Regions from separate parts of the Homo sapiens genome. Here region 2 is linked to region 1. Evidence: promoter capture Hi-C in 16 types of primary human blood cells and fetal thymus (Javierre and others, 2016). All regions are on one chromosome and are shown on one strand. Each heading gives the region's core, a stretch centred on a gene start or on the middle of the fragment in contact. The rest is flanking DNA. Distances are from core to core; before and after follow the strand shown.

Region 1 (3,514 bases), core at 972-3,471:
AGCTGGGATTACAGGCACCCACCACCATGCCTGGCTAATTTTTGTATTTTTAGTAAAGACAGGGATGGCCATGATGGCCAGGCTGGTCTCGAACTCCTGGGCTCAGGTGATCTGCCCCCCTTGGCCTCCCAAAGTGTTGGGATTACAGGTGTGAGCCACTGCACCTGGCCTGCATACTTTTTTTTTTTTTTGAGACAGAGTCTTGCTCTGTCTCCCAGGCTGGGGTGCAGTGGCGTGATCTCGGATCACTGCAAGCTCCGCCTCCCAGTTTCAAGCGATTCTCCTGCCTCAGCCTCCTGAGTAGCTGGGACTACAGGCGCCCGCCACCACGCCTGGCCAATTTTTTGTATTTTTAGTAGAGACGGCGTTTCACCATGTTAGCCAGGATGGTCTTGATCTCCTGACCTTGTGATCTGCCCGCGTCGGTCTCCCAAAGTGTGGGGATTACAGGCGTAAGCCACCGCGCCTGGCTCTGCATACATTTTAATGAGAAGAGATGTTGGATCATGGAAAGATCTCCACAAAATGGAATGAATTTTTTAAGTTTTGATACTCTTTTAATTGTTTAATTTATCTGGAAAATTTACTCCTTCCTTGACATTGCAAGGAATGTGTGGATTGACATAACAATCTAGAGGTGTCCTATGTTCAGAATCTATCACCTGTTGCTAATTTACTTATACCCAACATCCACTGCTTTTTATCCAAATAAATTCCGTCCATCTTGCAATCTTTATGATGTCCAGTAAAGCAATAAGTGGTAGCAGTAAAGGGAACATCCCAGGGTGGGGAGCATGCCTCCCTCTCCTGTTCTCTTTCCAGGCTTGAAAGGCAGGAGGCACTACTCAGGAATACACAGTCCTCGTTTCTCAGCTGACAGGCTAAGGATCCCTCTGCTCTTATGTGAAACTCACATCTTTCTCTTCCTCCTCCTGTCCACCCCCAAAGCCCATTTTGTACAGAGGAGAGAAAGAATCTGTTCAGCACAATTAAACCACCTACACACAGACTTACCAAGCAGAAAACAAAGAATAAGGAAGAAAACATCCGCCACCACCTGAGAAATTGAGTAAGCAGTTTCCTGAATTTCTACCCGTTTTTCAGGGATAATGTCTCTTGAGGAAGCCACAGGTTAGAGCTTCTGGGTGATATAAGGTGAAGCCTTAGCAACACATATTAGGAATCCCTATAACAACAATGGGGAAAGGAAATGGTGGGGACGCTTATTATTCAGTGGCAAACTGGGGCTGCTTCTCCACAGCACTAGAAGAGAATAAAGCAACTATACGATTGAGGGGAGAGAGGATGGATTTGGAGTCAGACAGACTCCTTTGACGACTGACCAGATTGTGAGACTTTGAGGAAAGCTCTTCAGCAGCTTGAGTCTCAGTCTCTCTTTCTTTAGTATGAAGGAGCTCTGATAACAAATCGGTCACCAGCTATGGGATGGGGTGTGGTGCAAGTGCCTCTCCAGATACAGAGGTCCCTAAAGAAGGGGACAGAGGTGAGCAGCCAATCCTCAGAACAGCTGGAGGGTGGGGGATGGATATAGTCCCACAAAGGGATCTGGTGACACCTCACGGCATCCACCATGGCTCCCGTCTCCTTCCAAATCTGAATGATAAAACCTTATAGAATGCAGTGCTAGGTTCTTTGTAACTGAAATGATTTCACTTTCTTTTTTTCTTTATTCAACTTTAGTTCAAAGAAGTGACCACTCACATCACAGAACTCTCTGAGGCATGCTGGGCTAATTGACTCTATTGAGATATCCTTTGTTATGATAAAAATCTTCTATTCCCCTATACAGATGGTACCAGCCAAGAGGAAAGTCACTCGTGCCTGTGGTCAAGCTTCAGGCAATCCCAGTGACCTTGTGCTGCCTTAACTCACCCCTGTCTCCTGGGAAGAGGTGCAGAAGGGGAAAGTGCTTGGGCCTTCCTCTCAGTGACACCACTCCCCTCTTTGTGTCACTGCCTTGCTTTTGGGCTCAGCGTCATTAAAGCACTGCTGCACCTTAGTGCACACACTCCTTTCTAGGTCACTGAGACATGAAGTGAGTATCATTTGTAATATTCATACTTTTCTCTGTGAACTGGCAGGGGGATGGAGAAGGGCAAGAAAGTGGGAGCAGTGTCTGCTGGGAGGGTGGAGAATTAATTTGCATTAATTTCTCACCCTGTTAACTGGTGTGTCACTTCTCTACTCACACAGCCTCCAGTGTGGATTTAGCAATTACTTAGCTCAGCAGAGATAATGTACCCCATAAAATGGCAGAGACACTGGCCAGGGCTGGGCCCAGGAATTCAGTATGGATAATATTCTAATTCTGTATGACAAGGTAAGGCACAAACAAGTTAGCCATGTTTTTCTCTCAAAACTATATATATCTTACTAGGTATATCACAGTGTATTATATAGACATACCTATGTATGTTTATATATTTCCATAAAGTTTTCTTATCTTATTTTTGGTCTTTTCCTTTCCACTGGACTCTAAGCCTCATGAGGGTAAAGGTTTTGCCTATTTGTTCACTGTTGTAACTCCAGCACCTAGAACAATGTTTGCCCGATAGTGGACACTCTATAAGTATTTGTTGAATACCTAAATCCATATTAAGATCAACTCTTATGTTTGAATTAGTCTAGAAATTTGGGGGATGTTGGATTATATGTTCCATTTTTAAAACAAGATGTTTATAATCAAGTGACACGATTTTAAAAGAACATCATTTTAGTTGAGGTGCCAGTAAAATTCGTGAATGCTTTATGCTAAAAAAATATTGGGTTACGTGGCCTCTTACCTTCTGACTCATCGTTCTGCTTTCTTTTTCTTAGCTTTACCATAAATTTGAATCTGTAATTTCTGCTTTGATCAATTTGATGTATAAGGAGTGGAGCCAGTCAAATTTGGAAATAAAATTTCGAGGTTAGAATTCCAATTATGCCGGTGATTCACTGCATAAAACATACGAGCCTCAGTTTCCTGTAAGTGTTCATTTTGCTCCAAGCCTTCTTTTGAGGGAGGATACACACGTTGCCCAAGGCACCAAGAATAAAAACTTTCTTCCTGGGCTCTTTCCCTGTCATCAGTTTTCATCTGAAATAAAAGGAGATTGACTCCAGGATCTTCCAAGGCTGCTATTCCAAGAGCAGGTTCATAAAGGTGATTGTCAAGCTCCAGTGCAAATGCTAATAATCTGGAATTTTCCTTCAAACCATCTGCCTATGCAAAATACAACTGGGTCACACTGGAAAGGAGAGAGAGAGCTCTGATTCATATGAGAAATCAAGAATCGAACCTTCGTAAGTTCCATACTACAGAAACATAGCTAAGCATGCTCATTTTCTATTGGGATTCTGGCCTGCTATTTGAGTGTATGCAGAGGGCAGTATCCTAACTCTGGTATAATTCTACTAGTAGCTTGGTCTTCCAAAGCTTGCTCAAAGAAGATAGCATATTTAATCTACTAAATTATGTTTTAATCAAGATAGAACTCTATAAAAATAATTC
Region 2 (3,363 bases), core at 711-3,210, 2.0 Mb after region 1:
GCTGAGAAGTGCTTGGATGTGGCCGTTGAGGTGAGGAACCACTGGGCCTAGCTCCAGGCACTCTGGAGGGAGGTTCAAAAATGGTGGGATTAGGAATCTGGGGAAGGTTGGAGGTCAGATGGAGAGAAACGGAAAGGGAGGTCTTAGAAATCTAAAAGCCATTGAGACAAAGGAAAATCAGAATCCAAAGCTTTGATGCCTTGGGTCAAACCCTTCATTTATTTTTTTTCAAATGAGCATTAGCTATTGGTTGTTAGAAGATGCAGACAGGTGCCCCTGGTCTGTTGTTGAGGTTGAACCTTATCTAACTTAGTGTGCTGTGTACCCAGTGGTTAGGAGCATAAATGCAAAGAAAACACAAACCACCACTTACTTCTCGTCCTTGTCCCAGTCTCAGTGCCTGGAGAGATGAATGTTGCAGTGTGACAGGAAGCTGTCTTGAGACACAAGGGCTACCTCATGAAAGGTATGTACTTTATCCAGGGAGAGCCTTAGCATACAACAGAACTCCTTAAGGTGTAGTCTCTGGATAAGCAGTGCCATCATCATCTGAGCATTTTTTGGTAATTCAGAGTCACCGGCTCCATCCTAGACTTACTGAATTAGAAATTCTGGGGTTGTGGACAGTAATTTGTATTTTCTAAAGTCCTTCACGATATATGGTGATTCTGATGCACATTAAAATTTGAGAACCACTGTCTTAGAGGAAAACAAACACTAGCAATGGGTAAGGAGCAAACTTCATGATAATGGTAAAGCATGTTTCTGGCTAGATATAGATAAATGGAAACAAACATACAGAGTCACCATTGAATCTGAAACCTAAAAAGTAGGAACAGAGCTTCCAGGATTCTGTATCTGAGATTCTTCTATATGAGGAGACAGGTTTGAAAACTACTATTAAATTGGTAACGGGGTCTTGTATTTAGCCTCTAAAGAGATAAATGTGCCTGGCTGTAGGGAGATGTTTTTTTTTTCTTTGAGGAATATCACATATTTGCAAGGGCAATAGTTAGGTTTCACACTTGCTAATATAAAAAGATTTCTAATTATAATTGCTCACAGTGTTACAGTTAATAAAGAACAGAATAGGTTAAAGAGAAGTCTGAGTTTTTTTAAGTGACTTTTCTAAACTATAAAGTACTAAGCCCACAAGCCCCATCTAGTGGCCTCTGTACCAAGAGTTCAGTAAACGTTTCCAAAGGGGCGCCCACCAACTTTAGAACCGCAGATAAAACTGAAAGCAATTCAGCTCTTAGATAGCTGGACTACAGCAGTAGGCATCACAGTGATGTCATCATAACCTCCTATTCAAATGTTCTTCAACTTTATTAGAACGCACTACTAAATTTTGACATAATCTAGAATCAGAAAAGAAGCAAACACTTATTGAATTCCAATTAGGTGTCAAGCCCTATTTAGATGCTTTTATATATGTATAGATACAAAATATGGTATAGATGTAAACATAACTATAGCTAGATATCGATAAACAGAAACAAACATACAGGGTCACCATTAAATCTGAAAACAGGTTAATAAATATATGTTTCACTAATATGCCAACATATAATAAAATAATGTTTCCAGAAATTCTAATGAAAAAATCAAAGTTCGGCCAGGCACAGTGGCTCACGCCTGTAATCCCAGCACTTTGGGTGGCCAAGGCGGGTTGATCACCTGAGGTCGGGAGTTTGAGAACAGCCTGACCAACATGGAGAAACCCCGTCTCTACTAAAACTACAAAAAAATTTAGCAGGACGTGGTGGCGCATCCCTGTAACCCCAGCTACTCGGGAGGCTGAGACAGGAGAATCGCTTGAACCCAGAAGGCAGAGGTTGCGATGAGCTGAGAAGGGGCCACTGCACTCCAGCCTGGGCTATAAGAGCGAAACTCTGTCTCAAAAATGAAGGTTCAAGGGAGGACTTTTCGAAGTCTCACAGTGTGTTATTTTAATGGTACTCTGCACTTTACGATAACATTTTAAATTCTATGACATCGCTATTTGTTTTTTCTTCTGCACACTATTTTAACCTTGAGGAATAGAACCGTATTTTTGACTAATCTGTTTTTTATTCCTGATGCCCAGCAAGGTGCTCAATAAAGTGATTAATACTTTTTGCTGTTTTTAAGTAAAGAAGTGTATAGGTGGATAAATGTATGAATGAAGTAATGAGTTATTTAAATTTTGTTTTTTTTGTTGTTGTTGTTGTTTTTGTTTTTTTTTTTTCTTTGAGTTGGAATCTCGCTCTGTCGCCTAGGCTGGAATGCAGTGGTGCGATCTCTGCGCACTGCAAGCCCCGCCTCCCGGGTTCACGCGGTTCTCCTGCCTCAGCCTCCCGAGTAGCTGGGAATACAGATGCCCGCCACCACACCCGGCCATTTTTTTTTGTTTTTTTTTTTGTGTTTTTAGTAGAGACAGGGTTTCACCGTGTTAGCCAGGATGGTCTCAATTTCCTGACCTCGTGATCCACCTGTCTCGGCCTCCCAAAGCGCTGGAATCACAGGTGTGAGCCACCACACCCGGCCCAAATTTTGGCCTTTCTATTTAATATATACATGAAATAAATATACATAGACACATATTTTTTTAATGACGTAAAGATGACTTTTATCAGCAAGCCTAAGAATATCCAAAGATGTCTTTTCTTTTCCTTTCTTTTTGACGGGGTCTCTCACTCAGTCACCCAGGCTAGAGTGCAGTGGTTTCACCTTGGCTCACTGAAACCTCTGTCTCCTGGACTCAAGTGATCCTCCCACCTCAACTTCCTCAGTAGCTGGGACTACAGGTGGGTGCCACCACACCCAACTAATTTTTGTATTTTTAGTAGACATGGGGTTTCACCACGTTGGCCAGGCTTGTCTCAAACTCCTGACCTCAAGTGATCCACCTTCCTCGGCTTCCCAAAGTGCTGGGAATTAGGTGTGTGCTACCAAGCCTGGCCTAGATGTCTTAATATTGCCTTCCACATTCTGCAAATATTTGTTGGCTCATAATAATAAAAGTATATTGATTACATCAAGGGTCTTAGTAAGGGGAGATGAGTGTTCATATAAATAATTATTATATACTATAGAATGTGAGACGTGGCACACAAGTGACACTAGGTTTTTGCTCATTGCATTTTAATGAAAGAAATGGTTTTCTGTTAGAGGTACTAAAGAACACTTTATTAAACCAACTCCTAAAAAATTAGCAAAATTTGAATAAGTAATTTTGATAGAAAGTATTTCATTAAGAGGAAGAACAAAAGGAAAGGGTTTGTCCAGGCAGGTGCCAGACTCCCCACTGAGTGTCCTCATGGCACATGAGGTACATGAAACAAAAGCACATGTACAAAAGCAATATGGCAGTAAAATCTG

The links. Contacts are between HindIII fragments. The CHiCAGO score rates a contact against its expected background, and 5 or more counts as called.
Region 2: a contact is called between a fragment that was not itself captured here and the fragment with the promoter of GPC6-AS1 in region 1, in 2 of 17 cell types (M2 macrophages and M0 macrophages). The highest score is 6.5, in M2 macrophages.

Annotation. Positions count from the first base shown.
Region 1 is chr13:94,186,698-94,190,211 of GRCh38, reverse strand. It overlaps GPC6-AS1 (GPC6 antisense RNA 1), which reads left to right and starts at 2,221. Exons shown (of 4, transcript NR_046535.1): 1 at 2,221-2,341; 2 at 2,839-2,988; 3 at 3,094-3,306. All of the region lies in intron 4 of GPC6 (glypican 6), which reads right to left. RefSeq lists an enhancer at 1,150-2,065. The HindIII fragment of the contact is 1,586 bases long and covers 1,856-3,441 here.
Region 2 is chr13:92,173,406-92,176,768 of GRCh38, reverse strand. The region is part of intron 7 of GPC5 (glypican 5); the gene reads right to left. Among named protein-coding and RNA genes, the nearest start is that of GPC5-AS2, 180 kb to the left of the region's middle. The HindIII fragment of the contact is 3,535 bases long and covers 193-3,363 here.